Linked DNA regions of Homo sapiens: region 2 is linked to region 1. Evidence: promoter capture Hi-C in 16 types of primary human blood cells and fetal thymus (Javierre and others, 2016). All regions are on one chromosome and are shown on one strand. Each heading gives the region's core, a stretch centred on a gene start or on the middle of the fragment in contact. The rest is flanking DNA. Distances are from core to core; before and after follow the strand shown.

Region 1 (5,593 bases), core at 2,432-4,931:
CTGTGCTCTCCAGGCCTGGTCCTTCACTGGTCTCCATATTCCCAGGCTGCCTCTCCTCACCTCTGCTCCATGATGGGTGAAGATGGCAGAGGCACATAGCGAGGGCTGGAGGGAGATGCTGTGGCCAGTGAAGCAAGGAGAAAGTACGGAGGCAGTGTCCAGGGACAGAGTCACCTTTGTTGCAGCCTATGAGTCTATCCCCTGCTTCTCTACCACTGTCCCACACGCATCCTGCCCCTCAGCTTGGCTGCAGAAGAGCAGGGTTCCACGGTCTACTCTTCTCCACATCCTTGAGTTTTTCACAAGCGGAGGACAAGATACAGCTCCCTGCACATCTCCTCCCACCAAATCGAACAGACACAGCTTCCTGTAGCCGCTAGGTGAGAATGGATCAGGGCTGGAGGTGGCAGGTTTACACTCACTGCCTGATATCTGGAAGGAGGTCACATCCCACAACCCACCTCCCCTACTTGCTGCAGGGGAGAATTTCCTGTCTGCACAGGCCTGAGCTGGGGATCACATACCACCTTGGAAAGCAAAGTGAGGAAAGAAACAGAGTAGCAGCAGTTAGAATCCCACCAAGGGGCTGCTGTCCTGCTTTGGATATCAGGGGAAGCCTTGGGCCACCCTTGCATGGGGGGAAGTCACGGAGAGGCGAGCTCTTACTAGCTCCTCGCATTGGTCTAACTCTAACCCCCTCCTCCAGCTTCCCATTCCCCACCCAGCTTCTGGGTGATGGTATCAGGGATGGGGGAGGGACAACAGCTTCTGTGAAAAGGTGTTTTGTTTCCACCCACAGCAGGGGGAGAGCCCGGGTTCTGAGTCAACCCAGATGGGCTTCTGATTCCCTCATGCACACTCATCTGTGTGACTGCCCATCTCACAGGTGGAGAAACTGAGACAGGAGGTCTAAGGGTCTCAGATACAGGTAAGTGCCCAGGAATCTAGAGTCTGGGCCAGCCTAAGGAAATGCAGGGAAAAGTAAGAGCAGAAGGATGACTCCTCACGCCTGGGTTTAGTATCACTTTTCCCTGAAGAGTGAGCTTACTTTTGGACCTCATCTGGAAAGGCCAGTGGGGAAGAATGAAAGATACGGAAGGAGGGTCAAGAAGGAAGTCGGGGAGACAGAGTGTTCTCTCCACTTCTTCCCACTGTCACACAAAGACCAACTAACCTTGGGTTGTTTGAGCCTTCTACTCCTCAATCCAGCCAGTGTCTCTAATCTAAAACCGCTCCTTGCTGGGCCAATCTGGGCAAAGGCTCTCCAACTTGCCCAAAACGTATCATCCACCCTGCTGTTCGGACCTTCCCAGCCCATTTCTGTCACCTTCCAGATGATGGGGAAAGCAGCTCCTCCTCCTCCTCGAAGCCAGGGGCAGAGGGCAACAGTTCTTCAACTGGCAGCTTTAGCTGGGTCAGGACATAAAGCTTGCCACTGAAGAACTACTGCGGCTCAGCCAGGTGAGGGCGTGAGAGGAACAGGCTCCTAAGGGAAAGGGAGGGAAAATGGGAAAGATCTGAGCAGGGCATGTTGCTGCAACGCTGACCCACTCGCTGGCCATCAGGGTCCTGCCCCAGTAGACCTCTGAGATTCTAATGCAGGGCTGCAGCTCTGATCTGGGCCCGCGGAAGCTGTTAACCTCGCTGAGCAGCAAGAGGTGGCTGTAAACAGACTTCCCTTGCTCTTCTTTCCAGAACTGGAGTCTAGAGAAACCCAGTCCTGCTCTCACCCTCCCCTGCCCTAGCGGCCCCTGGGGGCCCAGCCTCCTCAGCATTCAGACAGGGTGGGGCCCGGGACCCTGGACACACCCCACCAGCACGCAGGTACTAGAAGTGTGGTACCTCAGGTCCAGAAATGTGAGTTCAGTGATCAGCCCAACTGACTTGTTCCCAGGGAGTTCAGCTGGAAGGAGAGTTCTGGGGGCCTGGATTGGGGAAGAGTGAGGAAGGGAGGAGGCCTAGCGTTTGAAAGAAGGTCAGCAGAGGCCCCCGGGGCTGTGAGGGGCGGACAGGGGACCACAGGCTGGAGAGGAGGGAGGTATCGGCAGGGTGGCCGGGGCTGTGAGGGGCGGGCAGGGGACCACAGGCTGGAGGGGAGGGAGGTATGGGCAGGGTGGCTGGGCAGCTTCCCCAGGACTCTCAGATGCCAGGCATTCCGCTTGCGCATTCCGGGTACATCTGGTATGAATTCCAGGCTGTCTGCCGGCCCCTCCATGTCTGAACTTTGTTCCAAGTTCCAAGCCCCGCCCCCACAGTTCCAACGCATGAATCAGCAGGAAAAGCCGGGCCCTGCAGCATGGCCCAGGGAGGGGGCTGGGGGCGTGGCAGGCTCGGGGGATGTGAGCTGGGGAGGGCGGGTCCGTGCTGACACTCAGTCCAAGGGCATGGCCCACGCCAGGCTGAGGGGCCAAGGCGGTCTTGCCTTGGAATTTCTATACTCAGAGGGTAAGAAAGATTGGGGGATACGGGGTGCGGTTCAAATTCCGAAACCCTCTTGGGAGGCATGAACTTTGTGTATCTTCCTTCCCCTGGGTGACCAGTCCAACTCCGTCCGACCTTCCTCTGTCTGAGATAGCTCTGTTCAACCCAGAGGACTCAGCAGCTGCTGAGAGTCTGTGCCAAGCAGGTGCCCTTGGCTGCAGGGCGGGGTGGGCCCAGGGCACTGACCCTCTGACCAGCTGCTCCATCAACCCTCTGGCACTCTGACAGCTCCTAGCCCAATCTGACAGCCAGGATGACAGGCCAAAGGAGTTGGAGGCTGGAACCAGGGCCGGAGGGAGGTGGGGGTGACAGCCTCGCCGGAGGCCATGGGGAGGGGCCAAGAGTTGGCCGAGAGGTGGGGAGAGAGGCAGCCCAGTGATGACTAACCCAGGCGCCCCACCCAGCCAGCCGGCTTCCCAGGCAGTCAGGGCCAGGCCTGGGCTAGGGGCCTCACAATCGGACAGGCTGGGGGGAGGTGCAGAGGTGACCTTCTCTCGGCCCAAGACGGCCAGTTAGTCTGGGGAGCGGGGGTTAGAGTTTCCAGGCCCTCCTCTTGCCCTCTTCCCCCCGCCCAACCACGGTGAAACCCTAACCTTTGGGTTGCATAAGGCCCCGGCACCGCCGCCCCCTACTCCTCTCCCCTCCCCCCTTACATAACATCCCCTGGAGAGAACGAGAGGAGGGGCCGGCCCGCCCAGCGACCCCTTCCCTGCCAGGGCGCTGAACTGGCCCTGACCCAGTGAACGCCGGCAGAGGCAAAGCACCTCCTCGCCGCCCGCTCGGGGGGTCCAGACCCTCCCCAGGCTAGATGGCCGGCCCCTGTATCCTCAGACCGGGGGCCGCCGGGTGAGCCGCCCCCGGCCCTCCGGCCCCTCGGCTCTCCCCCCGCCCCCCGCCACTCCGCCAGCCCTTCCGCCACGACTCCCGTCCCAGACTCTTTCCTCGTAGCTCCTGACACACTAACCCGGCCAGTCCAGGCCCCTCTCCCCGAGGCGCCCCTGCCCCCGCCGCCCCTTCTCCTCCCGGAAGGGCTGGGTGTGGCCGCCCGGACCCCACTTTCACCCTCCATCCCGTTACCGCGGCTCCCCGCTGCGTGACCGGGTCGCCAGCTCACACCCACCTGGTGCTGGGTGTGGGGGTTGCTGCACGAGGGGGAGCAAATCACTGCGTCCGCTCCCCACGGCCGGCGGCGCTGTCTCTTCTCGGCACCCAGCACACACCGGCTCCAGGCTCCGATCAGCTGGCGGCGTCGTGACGCACGAGCTGCGAATGCACGGCCCGGGGCCAATCACCGCCCACTGCTGGGCAACGTGGCCCCGCCCACCCGGGGGCCGACGGGGCCTCGCCCTGGTCCCGCCTCTCCGGGCGCCCTGGCTCTGATTGGCAAGGAGGCCACCCTTTTGCCGGGCGGAATTGCACGAAGCCACGCCCACCCACTGAGGAGCCGGCCAATAGACGGACAGGTGTGGCCCAGCCCTCCGCGTCAGCGACCCGCTTAGAAAAGCGCTACGTCAAACGAGAGTCCTAAAGAGCAGGCGAAAGCCACGGCGTCTGCGTTTGCAATGCATGCTGGTCCGTGTAGTTCTCAGCCTGACACCGTCGTTCCCAGAACCCAGCGCGCTCTGTGAGTTGGCATTTTTAAACTGAGCTCGGAATCCAGCCCGGGGAAGTCCTTAAAGGGCGACAGCCCCTCCTTGTTGGAGTCGTGAGTGCTTCTTTTAGACATTCCCCAAACTGACTCGCCGGCCTCTGCGGGACGCTATAGCTCTTTAAGGAAAGGTGGAGCGGACCAAGGAGCAGGAGTGGGCAGAGCGTCAGCCCCCAGGGCAGCAGAGACTGCCGTTGGAGAGCTCTCCAGGGTTTTTGGAGGAGGGAGGGTGCTCGCCTCGCCCAGCCCACTCCTCCTGGGGGCTCTTCCTAACCACAGGAGGCTTTTTTTCTTGGATGTCTCTTCCCAGTCCCAGAAGAGCCCCCAGAGCCTCCCAAGAGGTAGCTTTCTAACAAAAGATTCATAGCACAGTCCTCACCTTAGGGTAGAGGGAGGGCTTCTGGTCAGAAATTAGGGGATGGGCCATGCCAAAGTGCAAAGGGTCAGCAATCGCATCCTCTGATTAACCCCCATTCAGTCCCGCCCTCCAAAGCTCTTCACTGACTCAGGCCTACTTAGGGAAGAGATTCGAAGGTGGAGACCAATGAGCAGGCTGCTCCTTCCCCAGGGGCCAATCAGAGTCTAGATGAGCGGGGGATGGGCAAAAAGTGAAATGAACCCAGTGACTTGGCAAAAGCTGCTGGTCGGCGTTTTTAAAGGGGCAAGCCGGAGACCTGCCCTACCTTATCAATCCCCGCAAGTCCCCCAAAGAGGAACATGTGGACTGAAATCCATGCCTTTTCCTTCAGCTCCAAATAGGGGCTGAGGGTAACTAAGCAGGAATGATGAGGCTGGAGGGTGAGATCCTTCCTTCTGTTAAATACGCACTCCATCAGGTAATTGATAAGGTTCACTTGGAGCTCCAAAATTCTGAGCCTGCGTTCAGGACATTGCGCCTTTAAGGAAACTTCCTGCCTTGCGCCCCAGTAACAGCTGATTGTTGGAAAGTGTGACCTCTGGGGACGAATCAGCTGTTACCACATCCTCCTCCTTGCTTACCCTCCTCCATCCCCTTATCCACTCCCATGGGTGGTGAAGGAAAGAACGTGGGGGATGTGATTGTATGATCTTTCTTTTCCCCCATCACTCCAAGACTGTCTCCCCCAACCCCAACCCCGCTCTGCTCCTTAGTTCTTCAGAGGCTCTGGGCTTGGAAAGAGAGGTATTTCCTGTTAGCACAGTAAATTCAGACTCTGTGGTCTAGACCCTCCCTGGTCTAGGGGAAGGCCAGTACTGGGGAGGTCCAGAATGGTGGCTGGCGCTGGGGAGGGTACAGTGAACCCGAGGACCAAGCCTGGGGAGGAGGAATGGCTATGGGAAGCAAACTTGGGGTTCAGAACGCTGCTTCTCAGGCCAGCCGCCCCCTACTTCCTACTCAAGTTGCCCTATTCCTCCATGGACAGGTGTCTGCTGATGGGATCCTCCTGCTTTTGCCCATTTACTCCACCTCCTTATTTATTTTTT
Region 2 (6,198 bases), core at 1,107-3,606, 130 kb after region 1:
TGTTATTCCTTAATGTTGTTTTCTATTTCACTTATTGAGTTCCAGTTTTTTACATACGTTGTAGATAACTTTGATCTCCGCATAGGTCTTTACTTTAACCTTTTTTCTGATGGATGCATTGGCTTGCTTCGAGGTTTTCCAACGTAATAGTACAGTTTTTAGTTTTCTCTCTTCTACTCCTCAATCTTTATAAATTATTAGATGTATAATAGTATTGATTTTGTTCTGTTTTTTTCTTAGCTGTTCAAGCTCCCTTTTCTTCTTAGTCTCTTGTTTTAGCTCATCTTTTGACTGTTAATTTGTTGGATTCATATAGTCGTACTTATTTTGCCAATCGCTTTTGGGAAGTGTCACTCCTTTTCTTGGCTTGTACTTTCTTCCAGAGTGGGTTCTTTAATCGGCTTTGCCTCCCTGTTGCTTTCCCTTTTATGCATTGTTGTGTATTGTATTGTTGCTTTGTCATCATCCCTTTTTATTTTGTTCATGCTTAATGTGGACAGTCCTGTCCAGACTTGGTATTTGCTCTGACATAGTCTAGGCTAGGTACATGTTGCCAACCTTCTCACTTGGGACCTTTTATCTTCCACTCCAGGCTATCTTGGAGCGCTTAAGTGGTGTTTTGCAGCCACTTTTCTGTCCTCCAGGGCATGGTTGTGGGAGAGGGTGGAAGTGTTGCTGGGATTGAGTGCAGTCCTTGCTGGGAAACTTCACAGCCCACTCTCTCCAGTCACGGAGACAGCTCCACTCCCCTGGGCTTTGCCTGATGGCACTGCCTCAGCTTGCAGGCTTGCCTCATATTCTTTTGTACCTCTGCTGAGAGCCTGTGTGTGCGGCTGGGTTTATTTACTCCTTGCTTTTTTGGTGATCATTCAGGTTTATTCTAAACAGGACTTGAGCAGTCATCCTTGTACTTTATCTTAACGTGTTTATGCTTTTATTTCTGAATAACAGATCATTAGAATTTGTATTGTGGGGTCAACGGACATCTGTGGAAAGTATACTAATTATACTCATAAATGTTATATAAGAGTATCTATTGGCCAGGCACAGTGGCTCAGGCCTGTAATCCCAGCACTTTGAGAGGCTGAGGCGGGGCAGATCACAAGGACAGGAGATCGAAACCAGCCTGGCCAACATGGTGAAACCCCATCTCTACTAAAAATACACAAATTAGCTGGGCGTGGTGGCGGGTGCGGCCTGTAATCTCAGCTACTCAGGAGGCTGAGGCAGGAGAATCGCTTGAACCCAAGAGGCGGAGGTTGCAGTGAGCCGAGACTCCAGCCTCGGTTACAGAGCAAGACCCCATCTCCAAAAAAAAAAAGCGTATCTCTGAATAGACAAATCCATAGAAACAAATTCAATGACTGGTTCTCAGGGGTGGTAGAGTGTGGAGTGACTGTCATTGTACACATGGTTTCTTTTGCTGATGACAACAGTGTTCTAAAGTGAGGTAGTGGTGATGCTTGCATAACTGCAAAATGCAAAACCCATAGGATTATCCACTCTGGAAGGGTGAGTTCATTATGGTACGTGAATGATATCTCAATAAACATGTTATTTAAAAAGAAGTGTTTGCCATTAAGCTTGTCAACATACTGTGTATTAGTCATATTTTAAAGAATAATTATCAGCCAGGCACGGTGGCTCATGCCTGTAATCCCAGCACTTTGGGAGGCTGAGGCAGGCAGATCACCTGAGGTCAGGAGTTTGAGACCAGCCTGGTCAACATGGTGAAACCCGTCTCTACTAAAAATACAAAAATCAGCCGGGCATGGTGGCACATGCCTGTAATCCCAGCTACTCGGGAGGCTGAGGCAGGAGAATTGCTTCAACCCGGGAGGCAGAAGTTGCAGTGAGTCAAGATTGCGCCATTGTACTCCATCCTGGGTGACAAGTTTTTCTTGCCCAGGCTGGAGTGCAATGGTGCCATCTCGGCTCACTACAACCTCTGCCTCCCGAGTTCAAGCAATTCTCTGCCTCAGCCTCCTGGGTAGCTGGGATTACAGATGTGCACCACCATGCCTGGCTAATTTTTTTGTATTTTTAGTAGAGACGGGGTTTCACCATCTTGGCCAGGCTGGCCTTAAACTCCTGACCTTGTGATCCACCCACCTCGGCCTCCCAAAGTCCTAGGATTACAGGTGTGAGCCACCGCACCCAGCCTGTTCCTTTTTATGGCAGAATAATACTCTGTTGTCTAGATACATCACATTTTGTGTATCTATTCGTTAGTTGATGGGCATTCGGATTATTTCTGCCTGCTTGCTATTACTAATAATTCTATGAACATTTGTGTACAAGTTTTTTGTGGACAGACGTTTCCATTTCTTTTATAGATAATCTGTCTAGGAAAGGAATTGCTAGGCTAAATGGTCATTTTATGGTTAACTTTTTGAGGCTATTGTTCAAAGTGTGTACACCAGTTTACCTCCCTGCCAACAGCGCGTGAGTGTGGAGTTTCTCCCCGTTCTTGCCAGTACTTCAAATTACACTCCATAGAGTTTCAGTTAAACTTCTCTGTAGACTATTTAGTAGTTTATAGACAAGGTCTTTCTTTACTTTTTCCCTCCAAATTTTTGTTGGCTGTTCTTTTTTTTTTTTTTTTTTTTTGAGACGGAGTCTCGCTCTGTCTCTCAGGCTGGAGTGCAGTGGTGCGATCTCGGCTCACTGCAAGCTCCGCCTCCCGGGTTCACGCCATTCTCCTGCCTCAGCCTCCCCAGTAGCTGGGACTACAGGTGCCCACCGCCACGCCCGGCTAATTTTTTGTATTTTTAGTATAGACGGGGTTTCACTGTGTTAGCCAGGATGATCTCGATCTCCTGACCTCATGATCTGCCCACCTCGGCCTCCCAAAGTGCTGGGATTACAGGCGTGAGCCACCGCACCCGGCATTCCTTATTCTCATATTTGTCATTTTGTTTTTTTTTTTTTTAATTTTACTGTATTGACAGCGCTGTCAAAACTTTGTTGGACGATGGTAATGTCAGCAGTTGCCTGATTTTCATGGAAATGCTTTTGGTTTCACTGTTCAATGCAGTGTTGATCGTGGAAAAACGCGCAGTTTACCAGGTGCAGGTTTTATTTTTTAAGTCCTCAGGATTTCATCAGAAATGGCTCGTAAATTCTTTCAAAGCTTTTACTACATCTTGATATGATCATATTTAATGAACTATTTTAATAGATTATCTAGGCTGGACGTGGTGGCTCATGCCTGTAATCTCAACACTTTAGGAGGCCGAGGTGGGTGGATCACTTGAGGTCAGGAGTTCGAGACCAGCCTGGCCAACATGGTGAAACCCTGTCTCTACTGAAAATACAAAAATTAGCCAGGCGTGGTGGCACATGCCTATAGTCCCAGCTACTCGGGGGACTGAGGCAGGAGAATCACTTGAACCCGGGAGATGGAGGTTGCAGTGAGTTGAGATCGCCCCACTGCACTCTAGCCTGGGCGACAGGGCAAGACTCCATCTCAAAAAAAAAAAAAGATTACCTAATATTCAACTCTTGTTTCATTCTTGCGATAAATCCTGCCTTAAAAAAATAATCCTAGGGCTAGGCTGGTGGCTCACGCCTGTAATCCCAGCACCTTGGGAGGCCAATGCAGGTGGATCACCTGAGGTGGGGAGTTCAAGACCAGCCTGGCTGGCCAACATGGTGAAACACCATCTCTACTGAAAATACAAAAATTAGCCAGGCATGGAGGCACACACCTAATAGTCCCAGCTACTCGGGAGGCTGAGGCAAGAGAATCACTTGAAACCAGGAGGCGGAGGTTGCAGTGAGTTGAGATTGCCCCACTGTACTCTAGCCTGGGTGACAGAGCAAGACTCCGTCTCAAAAAAAAAAAAGGATTGCCTAATAATTCAACTCTTGTTTCATTCTTGCAATAAATCCTGCCTTAAAAAAAAATCCTAGGCTGTGCTGGTGGCTCATGCTTGTAATCCCAGCACTTTGGGAGGCTGAGGCAGGTGGATCACCTGAGATGGGGAGTTCGAGACCAGCCTGGCCAACATGGTGAAACCCTGTCTCTACTAAAAATACAAAAATTAGGTGTGGTGGCGGGTGCCTGTAATCCCAGCTACTCAAGAGGCCGAGGCAGGAAAATTGCTTGAACCTGGGAGGCGGAGGTTGCAGTGAGCTGAGATTGTGCCACTGCGCTCCAGCCTGGGTGACAGAGTGAGACTCTCTCTCTCAAAAAAAAAAATAAGAATTATCTTAGCTTGCTAATTTTCTCTTTTTATTTTTAAAAATCTTTTTTCTGGAAAACTTTAAACATCTACAAACATAGACAGAATACACAGTAGTCTGATGAATCCCCATATAGCCCATCATTCAGCTCCAAATTGTCATCTGTTGTCCAGTTTTGCTCTAGCTCCATCCTTTCAACGTCCACTATCCTCTGTAATTTTGAGGTAAATCTCAGACATCATATTATTTCATCCATAAATATTTTAGTATGTATTTTTGAAAGATAAAAACTCTTAAAAAGACACTATCCCATTTCACACCTAAAAAAATACCGTCCGTGTTGTATTTCCATCTTGTTGTATATGTGCGTGTGTATGTGCGTGTGCGTGTGTGTGTGTGTGCCCACACAATCTATATGAATCAGAATCCAAAATAAGTTTCCTGTGACGGTAGATTGATGGTCTGTTAAGTCTCTCTGAATCTGTAGGCTCTGCGTCTGCCTTTTTTCTCCTTTACTGTTTATTTGCTGAAGAAACCAGGTCATTTATCCTTCACCTTGTGCAGTTTCCCCCAGTCTGGATTTGGCTGATTGCATCCCTGTAAAGTCACTTAATGTGTCCTTGTCATCTGTATTCTCTGTAAGTTGATATTAGTGTATTCTTTTAATATGCTGCTAGGTTCATCTTGCTGATATTTTATTTAGGATTTATGGGATATTGCAGGATGAAATTAGTTTTGGTTTTGTGTGTGTGTTTTGTCTTAGGTTTTAGTATTAGAGTCATACTAAATGATTCATAGGCCTTCTATTTTTATATGTTCTGGAGTGATTTGTATAATTTGGAAAGTAGTTAAATATCTGCCACTAAGTATCAGATAGTTATTACAGGGAATCTAGATACCATTTTCAGGAACAGATAATTTCAGGCTTATCTTATTGAAACTCTGATGTGAAACCTGATAAGGGTAGCACACACTGATTGATTGTATGTAAAAATCCAAATTATAGCAGTCAGACCATTTAAAACAAACGATTGATTGTATGTAAAAATCCAAAAACAGCAGTCAGACCATTTAAAGTCTAAAACGTGATGAATTTGGGTAGATTATTGCTTAAATATTGCCCTAGGCCTGTTTCTTCAGCTCCCTTGCCACTAACCTCATTCAGGCCTCTGTCATTTTGTCTCTTCTCTTGGTCTCCCTGCCTCCAGTCATGTTCCCATTAAATTCCTTCTTTTTAAAATGCAGACATTGTGATATGCTCATCAAGTATGTATTGAGCAACAACTGTGGGCCATTTGCTTCATTAAGCACTGAGGGATACCTGTCTTTATTGACAGTACAGTCTAGTAGGAGCGAGAGAGAATAATAAAATAATCACTAATGAACATATAATTAAGACGGAGCAGAGTGTTCTGAAGGAAAGAAATCAAGGCTGTAGGAAAGACTAGAACAAAGCAACCTGATCTCAACTAGAGATTAAGGAAGTGTCTCTTGAAGTGATGTTTGAGACGAGAGCTAAAAAATGAGTATTAGATGAGGCAAAATGAGAAGGAACACAACACCGCAATCTCAGAGCATCACGGACAAAGGCCTTGTGGCAAGAGGGACTGTCCCATGTGGTGGAACTGAAAGAAAACAGGAAGGCCAGAGGGCAGAGGGCAGAGGGCAGGCAGCGGCACGGGAGGGGGGTTAGCAAGGCCAGGCCAGGCAAGCCATGGCCCAGGTTTTTCTTTGTGGCCTAAGGTCATTGGGAAGTTATCACAACGTTTTAATTAGAGTTAAAAAGCAAAAGAACTGTAAGTTCTTAAAAATGGGTCATTATTACATTTTTTAAAATATCTATTGTCATAATTGGTTTTCACTGGGAAAAAGTCATTGTTGAGATAAGTATGTGTTTCTGAAAACAGTTCATCTCTTTTTATGCCATATATTCTTGTGTTTAGTAATCTAAATTCTTACCATGTCGGTTGGCTCCTTGAAGATACGGTGCGTAGCGAGAACACTGCATTT

What was found. Contacts are between HindIII fragments. The CHiCAGO score rates a contact against its expected background, and 5 or more counts as called.
Region 2: a fragment that was not itself captured here is called in contact with the fragment with the promoter of MIR22HG in region 1 in 3 of 17 cell types (M0 macrophages, M1 macrophages and megakaryocytes); the score reaches 7.3 in M0 macrophages.

The regions. Positions count from the first base shown.
Region 1 is chr17:1,712,529-1,718,121 of GRCh38, forward strand. MIR22HG (MIR22 host gene) reads right to left here and starts at 3,682. Exons shown (of 3, transcript NR_028505.2): 1 at 3,602-3,682; 2 at 1,175-1,486. MIR22 (microRNA 22) reads right to left here and starts at 1,459; the gene lies at 1,375-1,459. It also overlaps a transcript of WDR81 not described here. RefSeq lists an enhancer at 3,829-4,470. The HindIII fragment of the contact is 4,707 bases long and covers 1,427-5,593 here.
Region 2 is chr17:1,846,701-1,852,898 of GRCh38, forward strand. All of the region lies in intron 4 of RPA1 (replication protein A1), which reads left to right. Among named protein-coding and RNA genes, the nearest start is that of RPA1, 20 kb to the left of the region's middle. The HindIII fragment of the contact is 1,550 bases long and covers 1,582-3,131 here.